Regions from separate parts of the Homo sapiens genome. Here regions 1, 3, 4 and 5 are each linked to region 2. Evidence: promoter capture Hi-C in 16 types of primary human blood cells and fetal thymus (Javierre and others, 2016). All regions are on one chromosome and are shown on one strand. Each heading gives the region's core, a stretch centred on a gene start or on the middle of the fragment in contact. The rest is flanking DNA. Distances are from core to core; before and after follow the strand shown. Region 1 overlaps LOC105370461 (a long non-coding RNA gene). Region 2 holds the start of SEC23A (SEC23 homolog A, COPII component). Region 3 has its middle 190 kb from the start of LINC00639. Region 4 overlaps LOC105370461 (a long non-coding RNA gene). Region 5 overlaps LOC105370461 (a long non-coding RNA gene).

What was found. Contacts are between HindIII fragments. The CHiCAGO score rates a contact against its expected background, and 5 or more counts as called.
Region 1: a contact is called between a fragment that was not itself captured here and the fragment with the promoter of SEC23A in region 2, in 1 of 17 cell types (total B cells). The highest score is 5.1, in total B cells.
Region 3: a contact is called between a fragment that was not itself captured here and the fragment with the promoter of SEC23A in region 2, in 2 of 17 cell types (M2 macrophages and neutrophils). The highest score is 6.4, in M2 macrophages.
Region 4: a contact is called between a fragment that was not itself captured here and the fragment with the promoter of SEC23A in region 2, in 1 of 17 cell types (fetal thymus). The highest score is 5.3, in fetal thymus.
Region 5: a fragment that was not itself captured here is called in contact with the fragment with the promoter of SEC23A in region 2 in 10 of 17 cell types (fetal thymus, non-activated CD4 T cells, total B cells and 7 more); the score reaches 11.0 in fetal thymus.

What each region holds. Positions count from the first base shown.
Region 1 is chr14:39,478,785-39,481,484 of GRCh38, reverse strand. All of the region lies in intron 2 of LOC105370461 (a long non-coding RNA gene), which reads right to left. It overlaps LOC105370460 (a long non-coding RNA gene), which reads right to left. Exons shown (of 3, transcript XR_001750731.2): 2 at 1,171-1,616. Among named protein-coding and RNA genes, the nearest start is that of FBXO33, 48 kb to the right of the region's middle. The HindIII fragment of the contact is 1,217 bases long and covers 678-1,894 here.
Region 2 is chr14:39,101,771-39,104,545 of GRCh38, reverse strand. SEC23A (SEC23 homolog A, COPII component) reads left to right here and starts at 1,311. Exons shown (of 20, transcript NM_006364.4): 1 at 1,311-1,514. SEC23A-AS1 (SEC23A antisense RNA 1) reads right to left here and starts at 1,406. Exons shown (of 2, transcript NR_146545.1): 1 at 1,175-1,406; 2 at 734-1,001. RefSeq lists silencers at 1,096-1,325, 1,486-1,605, 1,626-1,705. The HindIII fragment of the contact is 19,881 bases long and covers 1-2,775 here.
Region 3 is chr14:38,721,366-38,724,065 of GRCh38, reverse strand. No RefSeq gene overlaps it. Among named protein-coding and RNA genes, the nearest start is that of LINC00639, 190 kb to the left of the region's middle. The HindIII fragment of the contact is 1,390 bases long and covers 727-2,116 here.
Region 4 is chr14:39,457,520-39,460,219 of GRCh38, reverse strand. The region is part of intron 1 of LOC105370461 (a long non-coding RNA gene); the gene reads right to left. Among named protein-coding and RNA genes, the nearest start is that of FBXO33, 26 kb to the right of the region's middle. The HindIII fragment of the contact is 9,042 bases long and covers 1-2,700 here.
Region 5 is chr14:39,439,366-39,442,277 of GRCh38, reverse strand. The region is part of intron 1 of LOC105370461 (a long non-coding RNA gene); the gene reads right to left. Among named protein-coding and RNA genes, the nearest start is that of FBXO33, 8.4 kb to the right of the region's middle. The HindIII fragment of the contact is 8,991 bases long and covers 1-2,912 here.

The sequences.
Region 1 (2,700 bases), core at 37-2,536, 380 kb before region 2:
CCAAACACCGCATGTTCTCACTCACAGGTGGGAATTGAACAATGAGAACACATGGACACAGGAAGGGGAACATCACACACCGGGGCCTGTCGTGGGGTGTGGGGAGGGGGGAGGGATAGCATTAGGAGATATAGCTAATGTTAAATGACGAGTTATTGGGTGTAGCACACCAACATGGCACATGTATACATATGTAACAAACCTGCACGTTGTGCACATGTACCCTAGAACTTAAAGTATAATGAAAAAAAAAAAAAGAAAATCGTGTATACTGCCAAGATTATTGCTTACCACTATTTCCCTTCATTATCTTCTCATATCCTAGAGTCACTGTTCAAGCCCTTTTGTTGACTGGTATATTTTCTCAAGACTTCTCTAATCTCTGAATTCTCACACATCTGCAAACATCTTTCTCCCTAAGAGGTAACTGATAGCTTAGCTTAGCCTAGCCTAAGATTCATGGGTGTAATCTTCTGGTCTACTACCATTAAACCACCACATTCCAGTCTCAAGAAGTGCACACAGGAAATGTAATGTATGTCTGATTATTTGTCCTTTCCAACTAACGTTTTTTTTCTATCTGGACCCTGTAAGATTTTATCATTATCTTTGGAGTCTGAAAATTTTATAGGAATATGCCTATTACCTTTTTTTCCTCATCCATCCTAAATAAAGCTTGGATTAGAGAGACTGGGGCACTCTTCAAGTTGCAGATGTAGGTTTCTTCTAATATAATCATACTATTTTCTCTCACATTTTCTTTTTTTTTTAACCTCCTAGAACTCCTAATATTACACCTCTTGGTCTGTCTTATCCCATGATTTCCTTTTATTTATAATTTAGGGGGCTATTTTTAGCAGAGTTACACATGTGCATCATTTAAAACTTCTACAAGGTTAGATATGAAAAAATTAGATCCCCCCACACTTCAAATTTCTCACTCCCTGAATTGCTTTCAACTCTTTTTGCTGGTTTTTGGTATTTGCCCCAAATTCCTAAATAACATTGTTATAGTCTTATACTGTTACTAACTTTAGTTATAGGCATTATTATCTATATTATTTATTGCAGAAGCTAATAATTTAAATCTTTTCCATATAAAAGCAATAATTTCAACAAACATACACACACACACACACAGGTTATCTTGTTTCCCCAATAGCATTTTACCTTGTTATAGCAGATCAACATACATTATTTATATCAATGCCCATTGTTTATATTGACTACGTAAACACTATTGGTAACTAAAACATGTAGTTTACTATGATTATTTTCCCTAGAATTGAGAATTTTTTTCATTTTTAACTTTTCTATGTACTTAACATTAATGTATCCACCCAGTTCTCCAGAACTGATATGAATCTATTCTCAATGCACTCAAACTCCTTAGGCATTCTATCAATTTTATCTTCTTGAAGAAGTCTCTCCTTGAGCCTCCTGGTCTATTTCAGTTCGAACTGCATTATTTACAGGCTGTGGCTTTTCACCAACACTCAATTAATCCTGTTGTCTCTCTTTTGTGTTGGATCCCATTTCCTCAATTTTGTTTTCTTCTTCCTTGGTTTATGCCATTATTTTGATGATGCACAAGCTCCAGCAATTTCAAGGAAAGGCTATGGAAAAGAATCTTGAGTCAAATATCTTCATCATAATTTACTTCTCTATATGTATTTCTTCTTAGTTTTTAGATATTTCTTCCTCCTAATTTTTCCAACCTATAGTGACACTCCATAGTCACAGGTCTCCATAGTGACTCTCCTTAAATCCATCTACTGAAGTTTTATTTCAAAGATTTGTTTTTCAGTGTCTCAGACCACAGTGCAATCAAATTAGAACTCAGGATTAAGAAACTCACACAAAATCACACAATTACATGCAAACTGAACAAGCTTTTCCTGAATGACTCTTGGGTAAATAATAAAATTAAGGCAGAAATCAAGAAGTTCTTTGAAATCAATGAGAATAAAGAGACAATGTACCAGAATCTATGGAACACAGCTAAAGCAGTGTTAAGACAGAAATTTTAGCACTAAATGCCCACATCAGAAAGCTAGAAAGATCTCAAATCGATACCCTAACATCACAATTAAAAGAACTAGGGAAGCAAGAGCAAACAAAAAATCTAGCAGAAGACAAGAAATAACTAAGATCAGAGCAGAACTGAAGGAGACAGATACATGAAAAAAACCTTCAAAAAAAAATCAATGAATCCAGGAGCTGGTTTTTAAAAAAAAAAATTAACAAAATAGACTGCTAGCTAGATTAATGAAGAAAAAAGAGAGAAGAGTCAAATAGGCACAAGAAAAAAATGATAAAGGAGATATCACCATTGACCCCACAGAAATACAAACTACCATCACAGAATACTATAAACACCTCTACACGAAGAAACTAGAAGTTCTAGAAGAAATGAATAAATTCTAGGACACATACACCCTCCCAAGACTAAACCAGGAAGAAGTCGAATCCTTGAGTAGACCAATATCAAGTTCTGAAATTGAGGCACTAGTTAATAGCCTACCAACTAAAAAAAGACCAGGACTAGATAGATTCACAGCCAAATTCTATCAGAAGTACAAAGAGGAGCTGGTACCATTTCTGCTGAAACTATTCCAAACAAAAGAAAAAGAGGGACTCCTCCCTAACTCAATTTATGAGGCCAGCATCATCTTGATACCAAAACCTGGCAGAAACACA
Region 2 (2,775 bases), core at 62-2,561:
AACATCCTCTTCCACCTTCCAAAACAACTTTAGTACACACATTATAGAAAGGGAAATATGTTTGGTGCTTTTTTTTTTGAGACAGTCTCACTCTGTCACCCAGGCTGGAGTGCAATGGCGTGGTCTCGGCTCACTGCAACCTCCGCCTCCCGGGTTCAAGCAATTCTTCTGCCTCATCCTCCCGAGTAGCTGGGACTACAGGAGCGTGCCACCACACCCGGCTAATTTTTGTATTTTTAGTAGAGACGGTGTTTCACTATGTTGGCCAGGCTGGTCTCGAACTCCTTACCTTGTGATCCGCCTGCCTCCGCCTCCCAAAGTGTTGGGATTACAGGCGTGAGCCACCGCGCCCAGCCTGGTGCTGCTGTCTTATTTCTCATGAATATGAGCTTTCAAGGACAGGGACTTGATCTTTTTTTCCATTCCATAAAATGTTGATATGGCTAAACTTTGCAGGCTTTTAGGCGTTGTCATATATGCAATTAATTCCATGGGCACTTAATTTCATTCCCCTCACTGAAGGAAGGGGTTGTCTGAGACCACCAAGCTCTAATGTCTTACCAATCTGTTGCTTTCTCATTTTGTTCAACTTTTTTCTTGGAAAGAAAAACATTGAACATATCAAGATGAATCAGCCAAATATTGTACTGTGTGTGTGTTTTGGGGGTGGGGGGAGACAGAGTTGAAGTGGCAGAGGCAATGTAGGAGGAAAAGACAGGCTGACTAAAATACATAAATAGTACGTGAATTCTTTCGGGCCAGGGATCTGGGCCTACTTTGCCTGCATCATATTACCAGCATCTCAATTGTGTCTGGCACATAGTAAGTTTCAGTAAACATTTGTTGCACTAAGTGAAAGAATGAACTTTTCACTTTTTTCAGAGATGTGATTTGTGATTCTCGGAATCAACCAGGGTCCTAAGATGTCCTGGAGGCCGTCTCCATTTCTCTCGGTGAGCTAAGGTGTCCGAGTGGCACCAGTTCTCCACTCTTTCTGCGACCTGCAGGGAGTGGGATACGCTGTGGCTTTAGGGAGCTGGGAAAGGCGCTCTCTCCCGGTCCCGCTCTGCCCGGTCCCACGCCCCTCGGCCGTCCGGCTGCCTGGGTCTTCCGGGTTCTTCCGCCCCTCTGGCTCGGTCCCCGCTACCTCTCCTCCCTCCTCCCCTCTCGGTACCTTCGCCCGCCGCGCGCCTTTCTCAAATCCTCCGGTTATTAAGCAAGCTCAGGGGTCCGGTGGCCTGCCCTGGTAACTCTGCGCCCGCCCCTTCCTGCCCCCTTCCTGCCCTCACGCCCCGTCCCCTCCTCTTGACGTGGCAGAGGCGGCGCCAGCCATGTTGGCCGGGCGGAGGTCTTCGCTGAGGCCCGGGGCGGGGTGGCGCCACCCCTGATTGCGGTGCCACGGACTGCTCCTGCTGGGCGGAGAGGACAGATTTTGCAAAGCGGAGGCTGCGACGGGTCCTGCAGGGGGACAGTGAGGAAAGGGCCGCCTCGTCTCCGCTCCTGGGGGACCGCAGGTGCGCAGCGGGGAGCGGGGGCGGGCTGGCGGCGGCGGGCTGGGGGCTGGGATCCTGGGGTGGTCCCGGCTCTGCCCTCTCGGTGCCCCGGGGCCAGCGAGGTGTGCTGGAGGCTGAGGCCCGGTCCGGCGCGGGGAGCGTTGAGTGCTGAGCTTGCCACCCTCTCACCCACTTCGCTCTGCCGGGGCCGGGGGCCCGGCCTCCTCCAGCTCCCCTGGATTAGGTGGAAAGATGTGGAAAACGGTGGTTCGAGCATCTCGCCCAGCACCCACCCCCACCTCCTGGGCCACCCACCTCCACCCAAGTCCATCATCGCCTCTGGGCCCTTGGACTTACTGTTTCATTCCTTGCCAGATATGGAGTGTCCTAGACTTTGAACCCAATTGACTACGTCACCGTAATTCAGCCTTGGAAGTTAAAGGGGTTAAAGGGGAAAAGAGCTTGGTAAAGATAATGCCTTGGGTTTTGATTACAAAGAGTTCAGTTTTCCAGCAGGACCAGCCCTATCTCACTGGGCTTTCTTTCTACGGTAGGTAGTGTTTCCCGATTTGGTGGTAAAGGTACTGCCTGAGGAAGGTCATAGTAAATCTACATCAATCACTGAAGTGGGGATGTGGAATTCTCGTTTTCACTTGAACTCCCTCAACCTCTACCGTCCAAAGCCATGGATAACTAGCCAAATTAACTTGGTTTAAAAAGGTTTTAGATTTAAATATAAATGCATGTTGAGTTTTCCTTCTCTTTCTCCTCTGGTAGTGAATGAACATCATTTCAGAAGTCCAGCTATTTTTTTTTTTTCTGAGACGGAGTCTTGCTTTGTCGCCCAGGCTGGAGTGCAGTGGCGCAATCTCGGCTCACTGCAACCTCCGCCTCCCTGGTTCAAGCGATTCTCCTGCTTCAGCCTCCCGAGTAGCTGGGATTACAGGGGCGAGCTACTATGCCCGGCTAATTTTTGTATCTTTAGTAGAGACGGGGTTTCACCATGTTGGCCAGGCTGGTCTCGAACTCCTGACCTCAGGTGATCCGCCCGCCTCGGCCTCCCAAAGTGCTGGGATCACAGGCATGAGCCACTGCGCCCGGCCAGAGTCCAGCTATTTTTAATTGACTTACAGAATTTTAGAGTTAGATGGGACCTTGTGATTTTCTAGTCCAAGTCTCTTATTTTGCTGATGAGAAAAACAGGATTCAGAGAGGTTAATTGTCCAAGATCATAAGAAGACAATTCATTGAGGATTTTGGAAGTGAAAAGTAGGAGACAAAT
Region 3 (2,700 bases), core at 172-2,671, 380 kb after region 2:
TACTCTTATTCTAAAGGCCAAAAAAGTTCTGAGAGTATTTATGTTCTATTCAGATTAACTAATTGAGATTTTGGCCTTTTTCTCTAGTTGCCTGTTCCTTTACTCAAAATTAATTTGTTACAAGGCACAGTGAGTTAATTAGTATGATTAGCTCCGTTATCTTCATGCTTGCATTTTTAAGGACTTTAAAGTCAAGGTACTGTTTCACAGATGATTATTTGCAGACAGTTAATTCTTGAGTTATTGTCTTGGGATGGCCGTTATCATATTAGCATGCCTTTTACATTTCTTGATTTTTAAAGAAACATCTCATTTTTATATTCCATTTTAGAACTTTCATTGTCAGTAAATATTACCAATGAGCTTCCGTTCTGTCAACAACATTTTCGTGTCACGTATTTTCAAAATATGAGATTTCAAATTCCAAAATGATTTGTTTCTATAAGTTTAGGGAAGTGGTGGTAGTAAGCATTTCATTAATAAAGTTGTTATAATGAGTACTCAATGTGTATTCAAAGTGTACCTGTTGATAATTTGAAGCAGAACAAAAGAGGGGGAAAAGAAAAAGAATGTACCACTAGGTGCCACTCTGATCTTAAAGCTTGAACCAATGAATGACAATTGCAACAATGACAGTGGTGGTGACATCAATAGACACTTTATGATAAAATGGAGGTAGTTTTTGTGACTATAATATTCTAAATTTAGGACATGAAATTTTAAGCTTGATGAGGATTTTGTCTGAAAATGACTTTTTTCAGATGCTTTGCAAATACTTTGTATTAGTTGATATTACTAAATCATTTATGAAATTAGCAAATGTGGAAGTATTGCTGACTTTTATAAAGGAGAAAGGTGTGGTTTGATGATCCTAGGATAGAGAGTCATCAATTTAGCATTGATATCAACTTTCACTATCATAGTAATAAAGCTATTGAACTATTCTTCTCTGGCTTGGTTATCCAGAAGAGATATCTCTTTCTCAGGAGTGTCATAAAAGACACTTGGTTAAAGTGTGAATAGTGTTCTGATTACAGTAATTGTTAAATATTATTATGTAAAGCGAGGTAATGATAGTAAAAATAAATGAAATGCATGAATGAAGCAGTTACCTGGTGATCAAACTACAAATAAAACATCAGTCCTATGTGGTGATTAAAAATTCTCTCTTCATAGAATATTTCCAAATAAAGAAGTCAAAGACAGTTTTCCTGAATTGTTGATATTTGACTTTCAATACAGTTACTGGTTCACAAAAAACCACTTAATTACCAGACTAATCTAATTGACCTAGGATAGCAGTGAGAGAGCTGTAAGGGGCTCTCTCTTCTTCACCTAGAAGACTTTACTGAACAAAGTCTAGGAGATCCTTGAAATTGTTAGCAAAGCATAAAGATATATACATATGTGTAGGTTCAGCAATATACATGTATCTCATTGGAACTTCAAAGACACTCATCAAAAAAGGGTTATATCCACTCTTCTAGGGTATTTGATAGTGGCAATGGCTAACATCACATCCAAGGGCTTGGTTGAAGGTAAAAATCAGTGCGAACGAACATCAAAAGCAACTTTCAGTGGGAAAAGTAACAAAGTGTCAACCTGAGGTCTCAACAGGAACTTTGGTTGTCATATGTAAAGCAATAAAGGCATTCCTTAGGACAACCTATACACATATGAGGGCCAAGAATTTTTTGTTTGTTTAGGTTTTTAAGCTCTGTTTTAAAAATCACATCTTCCCTCAAGTGCTGCAAACATAAAATCATTCCTGTCCTTTTACTCTCAAAATTGTGGTCCCTTTCTCTCTACCTTTCCCGAAACCAAAGGCCTGTGTGTGACCTTTGAACGAACTCACCCAACCTAGCAAAGTCATGATGCATTATTCCATGATGGGTGGGCCAGTGGGAGGGCTACCATTACAGAATACTTTCTCTTGGACTAGAAAGGTTTCCTAGGAGAATGAAGACAGAAGTTAAGTATATTGAAGAACTGGCAGAATTCATGCACTCAGTTAAAATGAAGAGACACTGCCTCCTGGAGGCCTGTATTGGGATAGCCGTGGTACAGTGTGAGGAAATGAGTAGTTTACACTCCCAGCCTAGATGGAATCAAAGCTTATTCCAGCCATGGCTGAGAGTGTGTCTGGAGACATAGCTAACAGAGAATTTATATTTTCTGACTGACAGTGAAAAATGAATGTTTTCACACCGTGGTAACTAAAATTTGGGGCAGTCATCTTTATTCACATTTGAATAAAACACCGATTCATGACAGGCTTCAGGTTGCTTAGTCAATCAGTTACGCGGCCAAAACTGCTGCGTCTGAGTCTCTTCCTCTCTGCTGGGCAGTTCCTTTTGGTTGTTTTTATTAGGTCTCAGTGTTACCTCTCGTGTGTTTTTCTTCTGTTATGTGCTCCAACAGGACAGAATTATTAGATCTGTACTGTCTTTGTAACCTAATTATTTTCCTGTCTCACATACTGCATTGATATATCCAGGTTTCCAAACATATGTATAGTTACAATTACACTGTGAATTTAAACTACTTAAGTCATATTATTTTAATCTACCAAAGATTTGAAATATTAATAACAACAGCACATGAAGATTATATTTTGGATTCTAATTTAAGAGAGTATACCTGTGATGGTTAATACTGAGTGTCAACTTGATTGAATTGAAGGATTCAATCATGGATTAA
Region 4 (2,700 bases), core at 30-2,529, 360 kb before region 2:
AAAATGAGGGGAAAATTATTAATTTTGTATATAAATTGTCCTTTTCTTGTTTCAGTTACTCATTACCATATAAAAACCATCCCAAATTTAAAACATAAAGCAACCACCATTTCACTGTGGGTCTCACAGATTATGTGAGTCAGGAATTCGGAAAGGGTACAGCAGGTTGGCTTATCTCTGTTTCACAATGTCTGGGGCCTCAGGTGGGAACACTTGAAGGCTGAAAGTGACTCAAGAGCTGGGAGCTGAAATCACCTAGAAGTTCATTCATTCATATGACTGGTGGTTGATGTAGCTGTAAGCTGGGCTCTCAGCTGGGACTGTCAGTATTAATACCTACATATGGCCTCTCCATGGGCTCTTTGGACTTGCTCACATAATGGTGTCTAAGTTCCACAAACCATGTATCCAAGAAGAGAAGCTATATCATCATTTATGATATAGTCTTGGAAATCACATAGTGCCACTTCTGCTATAGTCACACTCCCACCCAGATTCAAGGAGAGAGAACAGAGACGCTACCTCTCAGTATAAAAACGCTACCTCTCAATATAAAAAGTTCAAAGTTATACTGTAAGAAAACCCAGTGGAATAGGAGTTATGGTTGTGTTCATTTTTGGAAAACACAATCCATGATACTTGTTAATTAAAGATAGTAACTAGCATGCTAAGTACACAGTATCAAGTAAGACATATTGCCTTAATACTAAATGAATAATACTTGATTAGAGAACAATTTTTAAAATCAATAATCCATAAAAAGCAATAAAAGACAAACCAGATTATCATATTATCAGCTGATGAAAACAAGTCAAATAAAATTCAGCAGTTATTCCTAATAAAAACTTTAAGAAATATAGGCCTAAAAGAAAACTATATAAATATGATAGTCTATTCACCACAGCCTACAGAAAATATACTAAACAATAAAACACTAAGTCATTTCAATTAATGTCAGGAAGCAAATAATAGAGTTCCATCACACAGGGATTTTGTCCTTTTTGTTCATTATTGAATCTCTAGCACCAATAAAGCACTTGACACACAAAAACGTGCTCAAGAAATTTTTGCAGAATAAATTGTTTTAAAAATATGAAAAAAGGGGGCAAAGGTAACAAAAAAAGCATGATAAAGAGAAATTAGACCAAAAATGAAGTAATTTATATGGACACTGAAAAGGAAATTAATGATTACATGATTATATATTTAGAAAATATACCAATGAAAGCATCCTGATTTAATAATAAGAATTTGGTAAGATGACTACAGTAAAGTTAAATTTAGAAAAATCAAGAACTTTTTTGTACTTGGAACCAGTAACCAAAAGAGGAAAAGGTGAAAATTTTTCCTCTTACAATAACAGCTAAAACTATAATAGGGGTACAGTAGTAATAAATGTAAACAAGGAAAACACAGAACCTATATGAAGAAAACAAAATCTTAACCTACATGAAGAAAACAAAACCTAATAATGTTATAACAGTTATTGTTATTTAGCCATGGAACACTGGAAAGACATAAATTGTAAAATTCATGTCAAAATTTATATGAATTCTCAAAATTCATATAAATCAAATGTAGTATTTTGTTCGTTTAATAAAATTATGTTAAAATTCATATGAAAGAAAAAATGCCTGAGAATACTCCCAAAAAGTATAAAATATAAGAAGGGTAAAGAGGGACAAACCTAATCAGACACATATAATAAAGCCTCTGCAATCAAATCAATAGGAAAAGTGGTTTGGGATTGAGCAAACAGACCATGGAAAGAGTAGCGAATACAAAAATAGATACCAGTATACAGGAGAGTTTTATATACAAAAATTCATTGGGAAAAAATAGCGTAATAAATGAGGCTGGTTATACATATGGAGAAAAGAATGGTTAATTTGATAGTGTTTGTTATCTATATGGAAAAAAAATACTGGAATGTGATATCAAACTATGTTCCAAAATTCCAGGTGGATTAAAGATTTAAATATAAAAAATTTTGGAACAATACACCCTAAATTTTTCCAAGCAAGAGAGTCAGTTAAGAACATTTGAGATGGATTTAAATATCATCTATATGTTGACAACAAATTATACATTCATACTTTTTATCTCCAGCCCAGGTTTCTCCCCTGAACTTCAGACTTCAATATTAACTACCTACTTGATAGTTTTGTTTGGAAATTTAATAGCAACAAGACTTATCATTTTACATTGTAAGTCACAATGTTTTATTTCCCTGCTCAAAACCCTCCAATGTCTATCATCCCCAGGAAAGAAAAAAAAAAATGCCCTTGCCATGGCCTAGAGGCCCCTAAATGATCTTGTCCCACTTGCTAACTCTCTGACCTCAACTCCTACTACTATTTCTTTGCTTATAATGGTCCATTCCCAATGGCCTTCTCAGTATTCTATGAATACACAAGTATGTTTCAACCTCAGGGCTTTTTCACTTGCTGTTCTCACTGCCTAGACTTGTCTTCTAACCAGACAACCACATGTTTTATTCTCTTTACTCCTTCAGATTTCTGCTCAAACATCATCTCATCAGAGAGGGCTTTCCTGACCATCCTACCTAAATGAGCAATTGCCCCCATCACCTTAACTTGTTTTATTTTCCTCTGTAGTACTTACGACCTATTATAAATTTATTTTCTGATGTGGTTTTGCTGTGTCCCCACCCAAATCTCGTCTTGTAGTTCCCACAAT
Region 5 (2,912 bases), core at 133-2,632, 340 kb before region 2:
GCCCAAAAGCCCGGAGATGCCAGGAACCACAGAGCATCCAAAGAGGGTGTTATAGCATGTCACAGCTCTGGCTTAGGAAGCCCCAAGGTCTGGGCTTCCAGAAGGGCTACAGCTCTTCTCTCCTTCTCATTGCCTGCAGTGCAGAGAGCAGGGGATGGCAGCAAGTTTCAGTGGGGAGTGTTTAAGCCCATTTGTGTTATAGCTCTTTCAGTCCCACCACCACAACTGCAGCCCGTGGCTGGCCCAGCCCCACTGCTGCTTCCCACTGCATGGGGCGGCCACCCGGCGCCAACAAAGGGTGGAAGTGCTACAGTGTTACAGCAGCTCTACCTCAGGAAATCCCAAGGTCTGGGTCCCCAGAAGGGTTACCACTCTTCACTCTCATAGTCCAGGAGCGTGTCACTGCCTGCAGCTTGGCAAGCGGGCCAGGAAAGCATTACAGCTCCTTTCACACCTACCATTCAGTGATATCCTAGTTCTTGTCCCATGTCCATGAAGAATGAGGTAACATGGACAACTGGAAGGTGAACAAGGCAGAGATTTATTGAGCAACAGAACAGCTCTCAGTAGAGAGAAGACGTGTAGTGGGTAGCTCCTTTCCACTGGCAGGTCATCCTGAAGAGTATCTGAGTCTGCATGAGTCTAGGGTTTTTATGGGCTCAGAAGGGAGGAAGTGCATGCTGATTGATCCATGGGTAGCCATGGGCAGGCATGGAAAAAGCACCGTAAGTTCTCACTCTGGGCCGCGGACTCCACCCGTAATTGGCAGCCTGGCCCCCAGGCTTCAGGCCATCCCTGGCTTCAAGACGGGGTTTCACCAAGGACCTGCCCCTTCCCACCTAGGAATCTGTCTGCCTCCTGTTGCCATCAACATGCCATTTGTGCCCAGGCTGTCCATGCTGAGGGGAGCCCACAGGCCCACACCAAGCTGCCCTCAGCACCCCCGGTCTCCCTCTTGAGTTCATCAGTGCCCAAAGTTTCAGAGTTTCAGCTCCCTCTGAGCTCATCAGTGCTCAAGGCGGCAGTGGGAGTTGGTGTGTCAGTGTTGCCCCAGGCATGCACACACCTGGCTGGGTCACGACAGTGCCTGGGCTAAGCTATAACTTTGCTCCACACCAGAGTGGAAACTGAGAGCAGGGAGAGGCCAGGGAGAGTGGGAGCAGGCACTTCCGAACTTGCGGGGGCAAGAGGCTCCCTGGGCCCCAGAGAGCACAGGGATGCCCAGGTCTGGAGCCATGGCTGGGTGGTTACAGCTGCACCTAGAAGTGCAGGCTCCTGCCCCACCAATTTGGTAGAGTGTGAGGCTTCCACTGGGATCACCTGTTCCCACCCCCTACGGGCTCCACAGAGGGCACAGCCCCAGGTGCACCCCCTCCTACTGCAGCGGCCTTCACCGCAGCAGCTGCTCCAGATGAGCCGCCACCATCACTAGGAGGAAGCTGCAATTGAGATAAAAGCTGTCCTGTGCACTGAAACCTTAGAGATTCTGGGTTCAGTGCACCTGAGGAACTATCTCTAAGGAACATTAAGGAAAGAGTGAGAAGGTTAGCTAGGAATAGAGATTAACTAAAGATCTGAATACAAGAAAACTATACTAAACAAATCCACCGTTTTCTTCCATCTCTGTCCACAGCAAATACAAGGACCCTAGTATTTACCTTCAGCCAAAAATAGTAATAAAAGGATAGGCCTCCTTTGTGGCAAAACTTCATCTCTCAGACCCTTTATGTCTAGGCAAGACCATGTGTCTAGTTTTAGCCAATGAATGTAGGAAGTAATCTGTCATTTCCTTGCTACGGCAATTAAGAAGTGCCTTCTCCATTCTCTCTTCCCCTTCCATTACAAGAGACAGAGAATCACAGGGCATTTTAAGGATGGTATAACTATAAAACAGAAGGAATTAGGGTCACTGAATCATCACATGAAGGAAAGCCGCCTGCTAAGAACACCTTCAGTGGACAGTTAAAGGAGTGAAAAAATACACGGCTATTTTGTTGACATTAAGATCTTCAGGTTTCCCTTTTATAGAAACTAGCATCTTTATTAATTAGAGCCCTTCTTATAAACGAAAGACAGGAAAAATTAACTTTACACAAATCGTAAGACCCAAATCCAACATCAATAATCATGGGAGAAAGTATGCTTTTTCCATAAAGGTGGGTAAAGGGGAAAAAAGTGAATATTTGCCTAATATTTATCTAACATACTATAATCTAGCCAATTATAGACAGAAGATTGTGACTGCTATGTAGCAAAAGCTGATTAATGTAAGAACAACCAAGAGGCTGGACACGGTGGCTCATGCCTATAAACCCAGCACTTTGGAAGGCTGAGGCAGGAAGATTACTTGAGGCCAGGAGTCCAAAACTAGCCTGACCAACATGGTGAAACCCATCTCCACTAAAAATACAAAAATTAGCCAGGTGTGGTGATGCACACCTGGAGTCCCAGCTACTCAGGAGGCTGAGGCAGGAGAATTGCTTGAACCAGAAGATGGAGGCTGCAGTGAGCCAAGATCACATCACTATACTCCAGCCTTGGCAATAGAGCAAGACTCCATCTCCAAAAAAAAAACCAAGAGAAAAACAAAATATTACGATTATCAAATATTGGTAGGAATATGGAAGAGGGAAAGAGAGTAATGTAATTGAAATACATCTTCATATTTTACAAAAAGGGAGTAAACAGATGATGTCTAAAGTTAATCAGTTAAAAAGCACAGGTAGCGGCTGGGCCTAGTGGCCCATACATGTAATCCTTGCACTATGAAAGGCTAAGGTGGGAGGATTGCTTAAGGCCAGGAGTTGAAGACCCCATCTCTACAAAAAATTTAAAAATTAACCAGGTGTGGTGGTGCCTGCCTATAATCCTAGCTACTTGGGAGGCTGAGGCAGGAGGATTGCTTGAGCTGG